Linked DNA regions of Homo sapiens: all the other regions are linked to region 3. Evidence: promoter capture Hi-C in 16 types of primary human blood cells and fetal thymus (Javierre and others, 2016). All regions are on one chromosome and are shown on one strand. The core of a region is centred on a gene start or on the middle of the fragment in contact, and the rest is flanking DNA. Distances in the headings are between cores, read along the strand shown.

The links. The method cuts DNA at HindIII sites, captures the fragments that hold promoters and counts their contacts. A CHiCAGO score of 5 or more calls a contact.
Region 1: a fragment that was not itself captured here is called in contact with the fragment with the promoter of GPX8 in region 3 in 1 of 17 cell types (endothelial precursors); the score reaches 5.2 in endothelial precursors.
Region 2: a fragment that was not itself captured here is called in contact with the fragment with the promoter of GPX8 in region 3 in 3 of 17 cell types (activated CD4 T cells, naive CD4 T cells and non-activated CD4 T cells); the score reaches 7.9 in activated CD4 T cells.
Region 4: a fragment that was not itself captured here is called in contact with the fragment with the promoter of GPX8 in region 3 in 5 of 17 cell types (non-activated CD4 T cells, activated CD4 T cells, naive CD4 T cells and 2 more); the score reaches 7.4 in non-activated CD4 T cells.

Annotation. Positions count from the first base shown.
Region 1 is chr5:54,985,641-54,988,777 of GRCh38, reverse strand. No RefSeq gene overlaps it. Among named protein-coding and RNA genes, the nearest start is that of ESM1, 1.6 kb to the right of the region's middle. The HindIII fragment of the contact is 2,647 bases long and covers 122-2,768 here.
Region 2 is chr5:54,961,043-54,964,164 of GRCh38, reverse strand. No RefSeq gene overlaps it. Among named protein-coding and RNA genes, the nearest start is that of ESM1, 23 kb to the left of the region's middle. The HindIII fragment of the contact is 1,911 bases long and covers 738-2,648 here.
Region 3 is chr5:55,158,854-55,161,740 of GRCh38, reverse strand. GPX8 (glutathione peroxidase 8 (putative)) reads right to left here and starts at 1,570. Exons shown (of 3, transcript NM_001008397.4): 1 at 1,345-1,570; 2 at 486-747. The coding sequence starts at 1,548. The region is part of intron 2 of CDC20B (cell division cycle 20B); the gene reads left to right. The HindIII fragment of the contact is 5,226 bases long and covers 383-2,887 here.
Region 4 is chr5:54,922,978-54,925,953 of GRCh38, reverse strand. No RefSeq gene overlaps it. Among named protein-coding and RNA genes, the nearest start is that of ESM1, 61 kb to the left of the region's middle. The HindIII fragment of the contact is 5,645 bases long and covers 1-2,976 here.

The sequences.
Region 1 (3,137 bases), core at 196-2,695, 170 kb after region 3:
CTGCCCAGAGCCTTTCCACTGGACTACTTTTACCTATCCAGAAAAAAATCCTTGTTATTTGGTTAGAAGCAATCATAATGTACAAAATAAACACAAAATATTAATGCACATTACCAAAGCTTATTTTCCTAACACAATACCAGCTTTAAGAAAAAAATCAAAGTGGCATTTTAAGTATACAGGGTATACTGGGTTAAATAGATATTTGGTTTTATCATTTCTCTGCCCCCATTGCAAAACACCATATGCTGCAACATTTGGATCCACAGATGGTATGGTTTGACCCACCTTAGTTTGAACTTACATTTTAGGAGTTGTGAAAATCTTGTGCAATTCCTCTTGCCCTTTCTCACTCTGACTTGACAACTGATATACAGGCAGAGCAAGATGAGAGATGTTCCAGTCCCCAGCACAAAGCAAGTGAAATGGGTGGACCTCATGCACTCACTATCAACAGCTCTGCCATCATCTTATTGCTTTTTAATGCAGCTTAGAGTTGGCTCCTTGGTTGCTCGTGCTCCCATTTCCTAACCCTTTGTGGTCATTGCTAACTTTCCTAATGGAATTCATTGATCTGGGCTCAAGGCTCTGGGGAAGACAGAAATCACTAGATAAAAATCTTACAGGGATTGTGTTGGGACAAATGGTTTTTGTTGGGTCTTGGAGGGATTGAAGGTTCCCCTAAAATGAGTTGTTAGGCACTGTGTATTGAGATAGTTCCACCACTGGTGAACTCTATTGGGCATATTTTCTGCACTTACCTGTGCATTGTAGTTTGGTTTACTATTTGGATTTGGTACTCTCAACTTACATTTGTTTAGTTGTCATTTACTGAAGGTATTATCAATTTGGTTTCCCTTTATCTTCCATAGTGGAAGAGTTTCATGTCTTTATGTGCTATTCAGGAGGACGAAATCCACTCCATTCCTTCTGTATTACATCTAGTATAGCTTACCATGTCACCCACCTTGGGCACCTGTTTGGCACCTGTATGTATTTGATTTTACAATCCTTAATCCAGTCTCCAGAGCTTGTTGGTCTCAGGGCTGGAGTCCTGGCTTCACCATTTGCTAACTGTGTGATGATGGACAAGTTACTTACCCTCTCTAGGCCTCAGTTTTCTCATATCTAAGATGGGGATAAGAATAGCACCTAGCTCTTGAGGTTGTTTTGAAAGTTAAATGTGGTAATCTACATAAACTGCTTAGCATGGCATCTGGCACACAGTCAGATCTCTGTAAAGGTTAGATATTATTATTAACCACTATTCCAGTTAACTACTCCTCAGAAAGTGGTGTTCAGTAACAAGGGACATTTTCTAGGGTCAGCCTAAATTGCGACCTAGGCCATTGGAACTATTGGCCATGAAAGCACAATTATGTATTGTAATAGGCAATAGAATATGTGGCTCTGACATTAGACTAACATCCATCCCTTCAATATAGGGACCTTAGGCAAATTAACCTCTTTCTTACTCAGTTTCTTCTTTTAAAAAATAAGCATGATAATAGCAGCCACTTCATAATATTGTGATGAGGTGCAAATGAGTTAATGCATGTAAAGTGTTTAAGCTATTAACTCAACAAATATTACCCATTACTGAAAACATCAGAGTGTGCCACCTGCTAAGTAAGTGCTTCTGGGGAGATAGAGTATTTCAAATTGGATTGTCATGAAAAATTTGGAAAATTTGAAAGCTAAAACTCTTGCTTTCATTTCCTACTGCCTCAATTCTCTGTATTCTGAATTTACTCCCTGTGTCCCCCTAAAATTGCATTTGCAAAAGCCGATCTTCAAGTTACATCCAATGCCCGCTCTGCCTCATCTTCTATGGGAAACAAGAATTTTAGAGGTCAGGTAGCCTAACACCATCAATTCTCAAAAGAGGAAGCTGAGGCCAAGAGAAGTCCTGTGAATTTCTTACAGCTCATTTGTGACAGACCAAGAATTACCCACTTTACTGGGTTGTTATTTACTAAGTGACAGTGAGTCTATATCTCTTTTGACAAGTGAGGTGGGGGCATGGAATTCGGCATGTGGTTGGTGTAAGAACTCCCCTCTCTCCTCTTTAACCTTACTTAATAAGACCCTGGCACAGTTGATATTTTAAGAGGGCTACTCTGTTTTCCCAGAGGGACCTAGGCACGGTAACCCTCTTAGCATGCAGACCTTGTTTCCTGAGGGGTAATGTTTCCCTTCCCTGTGACTTGTTTCTTGGGGGCTGTGTTCTGATTTTCCTGCTGAGCCACTTGTTGCCTTGGGCTGGCTGCCGCGCTTGGCAGTTTTTAGTGAGGGCTCTGATAGATGCCAGGAGGTGAGGGGAAGGGCTCTGGGTGGACTCCGTCATTGGACAAGCAGACTTAGTGATGGATGAGCCTTCCCCTGAGGAAGTTTTGGATCAGAAGTCCAACTGATAAGTTTTTCCAGAATTGAGTAACCCAGAAGCAGTGCCGAAAGGATCTTACCTCTCTTGTGGCTTTTTGTATTGATTTTAAAAGAAATTCTCAGAGGCAGTTCCACATTGTACTGGAAGCACAGCTATATCCACAATAGGCTTAGATATATGTAACATGAATTGCTTTAGAAATAACATTTGAGGAGAGGGGTGAGAGGAAGGAAGAGAGGGTCTTAAAAAATAGCCCTATCAAAATATTTTCTTTCTTCTAAGTATTGAAAAGACACAATATAACCCTTTCTTCTTTCAAATGATCTCATAGCTATTTGTTGAGGGGAAATACCAAATGTTTATTATTTTTTTTGAAGAAGCTTCTTCGGTCCTGATGATTCATGTTGATATCATTTTCCTCCTGACTACAGAGGCTCTGAGACAAAGCTACACCTCAAGTGATATGCCAGGGTCAGAACAATTCCCGTCCTGAAGGAGGGTGTGCAACCTTCTTTATCCCTCCTTCACAGACGTCCTTGAGCCCTTGAGACGGATGTGAGTGAGTTTTTCAGTCCTCATGCAAAACAACCATCTAAACATAACAGATGACATCAGCTTGGGCTTTTCAATTCCTGGATGGCAGCAGCGTGTTAATCCAGCCTTCATCCTGGATTTCATAAACCAAAACAAGAGAGCCTGGCAGGAGGACAGCGCTGCTGCTGGGTTGAGGAAATTGATGACGGGAAAGCAT
Region 2 (3,122 bases), core at 444-2,943, 200 kb after region 3:
AGAGACAATACCTGTTAATTCCAGAGCTCCCACTGTGACACAATCAGCTGTACCCGGGTATGAGGTAGGGCACAGTTCACATGGTACCAAATAAATTTAGGACAAGAAGGGCTATAGCCAGGAGGAAAAGTCGACCATAAGGGGGTATGGGTGGGGCAAATGTGTGAAAACATGCCTATCACAGCTGGCATGGATGTATCCAAATAGGTGAGTGCTGGGAAGTACATTGTGGCACCTGACCTTAGGAGGAAGAAATACATAGTTACTAAGAGGCAGAAATCTGGTCTGTGTTGCACGACTAACTAGGGGTGTGACATTGGGCAAGCAGCTCAATCTTTTTGGGCCTCACTTTGGTTATCTGTAAAATGAGGGGCGTGGTTAATTGACCTCAGAGGACCCCTTCAGTTACAAAACTCTATTATTCTATCATGTAGGTCTTGAATTATACTTCGTTCCTCTGAGCTACAGTGATCATCTCATTATTCTGATTGAAAGGCTGAGTCCAGGGAGGACTTGCGGGGTGGGGTGGACTCATGAGCATATCATGTAGTTGGCTTCACATGTAGCACAATTTGAGGACAACACAATCGTCACCTGTCCTTAAAATTTCTCCCTCTGTCTATCACAGTGCCTGAAGCCCCAGCATTGATACATTTTTAGGTTTTGAGTCACTGATCCAAGTTATTTCCCACTACACTTGTCTAGCTCTCTCTGATCTCACTGGCTTTAGTGAAGCTTGTTCTTTTGCTTATATTATCCTGACCCTGATCCATTGCTGAGTTCACTCTTAGCCATTCTTTAAATTTCAGTTCAGTTCTTCATTTTTAAAGGAACTGTTCCATGGTCTCTGGGACTCAGCTAAACCCCTCTCTGTTATGCTCTCCAAGCACCACGTTGCTTTTCTGCAGGCATCTATGAGAGATGCTATTATTTATCAATTGCTCACGCACTAGGTCTTCTCATAAGAGCATTAGCTCCAGGAAGATAGAAACTGCATCTGTTTTTGTTGACTGCTTGTCTCTAGGAAGTGGCACAGTACTTGGCATATAGTAGAGACTCAATAAATATTCATTTAATTTTTAGTTTTAAGGTGGCTTAAACACTATGGAATTTAGTTTTAAGGTAGTTTAAACATCAGGGAAAAAATTTTATATAGGAATGTTTCCCTTCTGTGGGTTTTTCCTCAACTTAGATTTCACAAGTGTGGTCTATGATTGGCTAAGAGCAATGATAGGTGATTGAAGAAGTTTCCAGAACTCACTCCCTTCCACTTAATCAAGAGCCAGCAGATGTGATCAGGCTTTTCTTCCTTGAGTTTCACTCCCTTCCTTACACACACACACACATACACACACACACACACATATTGGTTTACAGCCACAGTTCCTGGCTCATTACTCCCATAGCCCTTGTTCCAGTCTTTCGTTACACTGTTAGGTGTGTGAGGTCTCAGGGGCAGCCCTGGACCTTCTCCTGCCCTCCTTTCACCTTGCCTAAGGCAGGACTCTAATGTTCCCTGCCTTTCTGATTGTGGGCCTTAAGCCCCTCCCAAGAGAGGGTCCTTCCTTATACCTCAGGGGAAGGAATGCTGATGTCATGAAGCCTTCTTAAAAACCCAAGAGGACCAGGGTTCAGTGAGCTTCCAGATAGCTGAACATGTGGAGGTTCTTGAACCCAGGGCACCAGGTAGGCTCCATACCCCTTTCCCCATACCTTGCCCTACATGTGTCTTCATCTGTATCCCTTGTAATCCCCTTTATAATAAAGTGGTAAGTGTAAGTAATTATTTCCTTGAGTTCTGTGAATCCTTTCAGCCAATTAATCGAACTCCAAGAAGGAGTTTTGGGAACCTCAACTTGAAGCCAGTTTGTCAGAAGTTTCAGAGGCCCAGACTTGCGACTGGTGTCTGGGGGGTGTGGGGAGCAATGTTGGGGACTGAGCCCCCAACAGGCCAGATCTGACACTATCTCTGGGTAGGTAGCATCAGAACTGAATTGGAGGACACCCAGCTGGAGTCTGCTGCTTGGTGTGTAGGGAAAAACTCCACACATTCTGTGTTGGGAAGTCTTCTGTGTTGATGATTGTTGTTGTGGTGGTGTCAGAGTAGAGGGAAAATGCAGTTAGAAAGAGAGTTTTTCCCCATACACCCTTCAGTAGAAACCCCTAACTGTAAGCATATTGCAAGACCCAAAGACTCTATTAAGAGACCCCATATCCAACCTTCCTTTGGCAAGATCTGAAAACCAACCTGCCTCTTCTGCAGAAGGCTAACTTTCACAGTACCAGGGCATGCTTCCGAATTAGCTAGTGCTCAATGATCAGAGCTAGAGACTGGCTGTTGCTAATAGTGGCAATGAGAGGCAGAGCAGAGCCATCTTTTCATCCACACATCTTTGCACTACACAAAGACGAATCGCAACCTCCATGGATTCTTGAAACCTGTGACATGCCATTTAAAGAACAGACACCAGAGAATACAATGGTGTCATTTGGGTTTGTCTCATTTCCTTCCATCCTCAGATCTAGGAGGATATCAGGGAGATTGCAGATCTCCAATGGTGAAGGCTAAGTGGGAACGTTAGTCCAGGGAATTCTCTTCTTACACGGAATGCATCCTTTTTTTTGGAGTGCAGTAGTCAGTGTAAGCTTTGTGCTTATCCTGCTGAAATCACACATGAACCCTTTCAGTGAAAGCATGTCTACATATCCTGGTTTTATCCCTTGGAGTTCTCAGCTCTGTATTTGAGGTTTTTATAACTGAGAGGTAAGAACAAATATTTCCCCAGGCCTGGCCATGTGTTTGGATAGTAAATTATACTAAATGTGACTTTCAGGGGGTGTCCATGATTCATAAAATCCTATTTCTTCCAGGCCCTCATGTGCCTCTTAGCACCTGAGCTGCTTCTCAGGGCTCCAAATGTGGCCCTACATGTCCAGTGTCACAGCCTACAGACTCAGTTTCTGAGCCACAAAGCCTTATTCTGGCCACAGGGCTGTAGTTCACATACATGGACAGAGCCTCTCTCCCTCGATTCCAGACACTATCTCTGAGGTATTTCTCTGTGTCAGGCACAAGGATTGAACCCAGGATATCCCCCTTTCAATGGCCAGGTAGACTTTCA
Region 3 (2,887 bases), core at 321-2,820:
GATTTTAGCAAAAATCTGGTAAGCTGACATATTCATCTTTGAGAATATTGTTTCAGATAAGAAAGACAACATAAAATTAGCCACAAACATATGTTAACTAATAATGCCCAGCACTATTCATGAGAGCTGTGTGGCTATAATGACGGGAAGGGACATTTCTCCAGATGCTAGTTACAAGAGAGGAGAATTAAGATATTTTGTGAAAATAGCCATGGGCACACTTTAAGTAAATTCTTCAGGAAGATGGTAATAAGGAATAAAATATATTGGAATAGAATTCTTTTACCATCTAAGAAGCTAAAACATTGATTTCAGGGGAGCATAACTCCTAGAAGTTACAAAGGATGAGATTCTGGCTCTTTGATGATAGTTTTATGAAGCTTTCCCGATACAACGTTTCAAATGAAATAGGAAAGTATTGTCCTGGTATAATTGTTTAAAAATGAAAAGCAATTTAAAACAGCATATGCAAGGCAGATATTTACCAACAAGAAATCTAAATGCAGGTTCTCCTTCAGATCCTAGAATCTTAATCTTGTGGAAGATGGGGAAAGTTACTCCGTAGTTTTTTCTTGCAAAAGATTCTACTTCCTTGCTTGGGCGGGGCTCCGATTCTCCAAACTGATTGCAGGGAAAAGCCAACACGCTGAAGTGGGATGGTCCAAACTCTTTGTGCAGTTCCTTCAGCCCTAAGTAATTTCTGTCTGTGAGTTGGCAGTCACTGGCCACGTTTACAACTAGTGAAACCTCCCGGAAAAAGAAAAAAATCCAACCGGAAAGTGAAGCAAAAGATTTTAAAAAATTCTGCAAGTAGTTAAAATCCTAAACAATTTGGGGGGGACTATAACCTCTGATTGATGTTTTTTTCATATTTTTGGACATACACAGTTCTATTGAAAACTGTAACCTAGATGCCTGGGTTAAGGCCCTGAAATAGTACTGCCATTAAAAAAGCATTAGATACTCATGAAAGTTTATTTTTAAATTAAAGATAAAACTATGATCCTTGATAAGTTCTTTTTAAAGTTATTAGATTATAGAACCAATACTTTTATTAATAAATGTCATCATGTTCACATTACTAACTATAAGTATTTTCCAAACAACTTTACATGTCAATTCAGCACAAAATTAAAGCATTTTAAAGAAAACGAGATAATCGGAATTTATTATTTAGAAGCAAACTATCAGAACTGTAATAACTAAAGTGATGTACTAATACCATTACTCTGAAGACTAAATTCCAACTTATGACCATGTAACAGCAAAAAATTGATTTTATTAAGAGGAATAAACAGAGACAAGGAAAAATGATAACAATAAAAATCAGATGATGCAACTTACTTTGCCTTTATACTTTTCCAGAGAAACAGTTCTTCCTTTTGCATCCTTCACTTCAAAGGCATAAAAGCTGTTGATTTTAGGTTTGAGGAATTTTAGTTGTAGAAGAAATAGCGTTACTGTGCATAGAACTATAGACAGCAAAACTGCAAATACCTTTGCTCTGGGCCCGGAACATTTTAGCGGGTAAGCTGCAAGAGGCTCCATGTTGGAGGATTCTAGAGGGAAGTCTCAGCAGCCTGGAATTCAAGGAGGAGCTGAAACTTGAAACCGGCTTAGTTTAACGGAAAACCAGGAAGGACAGGCTGACTGCTTTCACTGCTAAGGAACAGAAAGACCACTTCTCAGAGGGGAAATGAAGCGAAACTCCTGAATGAAGCAAGGAGCTCTACAGAATTTCAAAGTATTTGTGATGTAATTATAATTTTTGCTAGAAAAATCAGGACATTTTTGGTAGGTCTTTGACATTCTCCCTACAAAGAAAATATTTCGCCAGAAGATGGTGCTCTTGTAACTCGAAAGCTACGGAGGGCTCATTCCCCATGCTAAGCTGTGTATTTATTGAGCAACTGTTTGGATGCAGAGGATGGAGTACGATGCTCAGCAATAGTTTAGAATGTAGATTAAATGTGACCTACTCATATGGTGTATACCCTGAAGGACGTTACTATTACATGTATGGGTTAAACATGCTATATGAGTTCAGGAAATTTATAGTGGAAAGAGCAGGGAAATATCTGAAAAAGGCTATTTACCCTGATTCATCTAGCTAAGGCAATCAAATACCAAGTGAATACAGTCAAAATAAATATGTTAAAAACAGTGAAGGTGTTAAAAGAAACCCTTCTCTATCATAGAGCAAACTATAGTCCAGTGTTTTTCAAATTTCTACTCATGACCCCCAGTCAGCAGTGCACTTTACAACATAACTGGGTACAAACAACACACAACTGAGAAACAACACTTCTCCTTTGAACTGTGATGCACCCCCACCTGTTGCATTTTTAAACAACCCAGTTCTGACCTATCAAAATGATTTCATCATTCACCGATGCACTACAACCTGTAGATGGAAAAAACTGAGGCCGGGCATGGTGGCTCACGCCTGTAATCCCAGCACTTTGGGAGGCCTAGATGGGAGGATCACTTGAGCCCATGAGTTCAAGACCAACTTGGGCAAGAAAGCGATACCCCTGTCTCTAAAAAAGAATTTTAATTAGCTGGTTGTGGTGGTGCATGGCTGTGGTCCCAGTTATACAGGTGGCAAAGGTGGGAGGATCGCTTGATCCCAGGAGGTTGAGGCTGCAGTGAGTCGTGTTTGTAGACTGCAGCCTGGGTGACAGAGTGAGACTATCTTAAAATCAGAACAAAAGAAGAAGAGGGAAAAAAGCAAAAATTGAACTCGATAATAAAGTAGTAATTTAACAGTTAAATAAGGCAATTCTACCAAAAAAAATCCCTGAAAACAAACAAACCCTGCAAAACCCACCTCTACTTGGGCACGTCATCTAATTGCTTCGTTTTTTCTCTTTATTTCCCTCCCCTG
Region 4 (2,976 bases), core at 135-2,634, 240 kb after region 3:
GCAAGCAAAAAAAAAAAAAAAAAAAAAAGCCCTCACCAAACTCTGGTCATGCTGGCACTCTGATCTCAGACTTCTCAGCTTCCAGAACTGTGAGAAATAGATGTGTTCTGCTTAAGCCACTTACTCAATGGTATTTTGTTACAGTGGCTTGAGCTAAGACATTGTGCAGGAATCTTTGATAAGATTAGCAGTGACTTTCTTACAAAAGACCAGGGAGGACAGAAGGCAAGACGATGATACTAAAAAGTTCTGAAAGAAAGAAAGAAAGGGATGAAGGAAGGAAGGAAGGAAGAAAGGAAGGAAGGAAGGGAGGAAGGAACTGTCAACCAAGAATTTTATCTTCTGCAAACTATCCTTCAAAAATAAAAAAAAGCTAAGATATTCTCAGATAAAAACTGAGAGAGGTAGTTTATAGCAGACCTGCTCTACAAGAAATCTAAAAATAGTCATTCAAAATAAAAAGACACTTCACATAACTCAAATCTACCTGAGATAATGAAGAGCACCAATAAAGGTAACTACAGAGGTAAATGTAAAAGATAGTATAAATGTATATTTTGCATGTAACTCATTTTCCTCCATCTGATTTAAAAGACAACTACATAATGCAATAATTATAAATTTATGTTGATGGGCACACAATGTATGAAAATGTAATCTGTAACAATAACAGCATAAAGGAGGAGGGGGACATAGAGATAGAAGCAAATTTCTTGTATACTATTGAAACTGAGTGTTTGGACAAGGTTGTTATAAATTAAGATATTAATGTTAATTCATAGGCAACCACTAAGAAAACAACTAAAATATATATAGTAAAAGAAATAACAATTCCAGCACTTTAGGAGGCCAAGGCGGGCAGATCACTTGAGGCCCGGAGTTTGAGACCAGCATGGGCGACATGGTGAAACCCTGTCTCTACAAAAAATACAAAAAATTAGCCGGCTGTGATGGCATACACCTGTATTCCCAGCTACTCAGGAGACTGAGGTGGGAGGATCAATTGAGATCAGGAGTTCGAGGCTGCAGTAAGCTGTGATTGTGCCACTGCACTCCAGCTTGAGTGACAGAGCAAGACCCTGTCTCAGGAAAAAGAAAAGAAAAAAAAGAAAAGAAAAAGGAAATCATAATTGAATTAAAATTGTACACCACAAGAAAACATCTATTTAACACAAAAGAAAGCAGTAATGAAGAGAGGAACAAAGATTAAGGCATATAGAAAACAAATAGCAAAATGGCAGGCATAAATCCTACTTTATCAGTAGCTACATTAAATGTAAATGGGTTAAACTCTTCAATTAAAAGTCAGAAATAAATGAATTTTAAGAAAAATACATATTTTATGCTGCCCAAAAGACACTTATTTTGGATTCAAAGACACAAATATGTTAAAAGTAAAAAGATGACAAAAGATAAATGATACAAACAGTAACCAAAAGAGACAAGTGGCTTTACCAATATCAGACAAAATTGACTTTAAAATAAAAATTGTTACTAGAGACAAAGAGAGGTCAATCTATTAAGAAAATATAACAATTACAAATATATATGCACCTAGCAACAGAGCCCCAAAATACATGAAGCAAAAACTGACACACTTGAGAAAAGAAATAGACAGTTCAACCATAACAGTTGAAGACTTCAGAACCCTATTTTTTTATTTATTTATTTTGCAGAAACTTATTGCCCAGAGCTGACAGTACCCTACTTTCAATAATGGTTTATCCAAAGTAGAAAGATCAACAAAAATTAGAAGATTTGAACAACACTATAAAGCAACTAGACCTGACATCTGTAGAACACTCTACCCAGCAATGGCATAATACACATTATTCTTTTTTATTATTATTATACTTTAAGGTTCTGGGTTACATGTGCAGAACATGCAGTTTTGTTACATAGGTATACATGTGCCTTGGTGGTTTGCTGCACCCAGCAGCCAGTCACCTACATTAGATATTTTTCCTAATGTTATCCCTCCCATAGGCCCTGACCACGCCACAGGCTCTGGTGTGTGATGTTCCCCCTCCCTGTGTCCGTGTGTTCTCACTGTTCAACTCCCACTTATGAGTGAGAACATGTGGTGTTTTCTGATCTTTTGATAGCTTGCTGAGAATGATGGTTTCCAGCTTCATCCATGTTCCTACAAAGGACATGAGCTCATCCTTTTTTAATGGCTGCATAGTATTCCATGGTGTATATGTGCCACATTTTCTTAATCCAGTCTATCATTGATGGACATTTCGGTTGGTTCTAAGTCTTTGCTATTGTGAATAGTGCTGAAATAAGCATATGTGTGCATGTGTCTTTATCACAGAATGATTTATAATCCTTAGGGTATATGCCCAGTAATGGGATGGCTGGGTCAAATGGTATTTCTAGTTCTAGATCCTTGAAGAATCACCACACTGTCTTCCACAATGGTTGAACTAATTTACACTCCCACCAACAGTGTAAAAGCGTTCCTATTTTTCCACAACCTCTCCAGCATCTGTTGTTTCCTGACTTTTTAATGATTGCCATTCTAACTGGTGTGAGATGGTATCTCATTGTGGTTTTGAGTTGCATTTCTCTAATGACCAGCGATGATGAGCTTTTTTTTCAAATGTCTGTTGGCTGCATAAATGTCTTCTTTTGAGAAATGTCTGTTCATAACCTTTACCCATTTTTTGATGGGGTTGTTTGATTTTTTCTTGTAAATTTGTTTAAGTTCTTTGTAGATTCTGGATATTAGCTCTTTGTCAGATGGATAGATTGCAAAAATTTTCTCCCATTCTGTAGGTTGCCTGTTCACTCTGATGGTAGTTTCTTTTGCTGTGCAGAAGCTCTTTAGTTTAATTAGATCCCATTTGTCTATTTTGGCTTTTGTTGCCATAGGTTTTGGTGTTTTAGACACAAAGTCTTTGCTCATGCCTATGTCCTGAATGGTATTGTCCACGTCATCTTCTAGGATTTTTATGGTCCTAGGTCTTACGT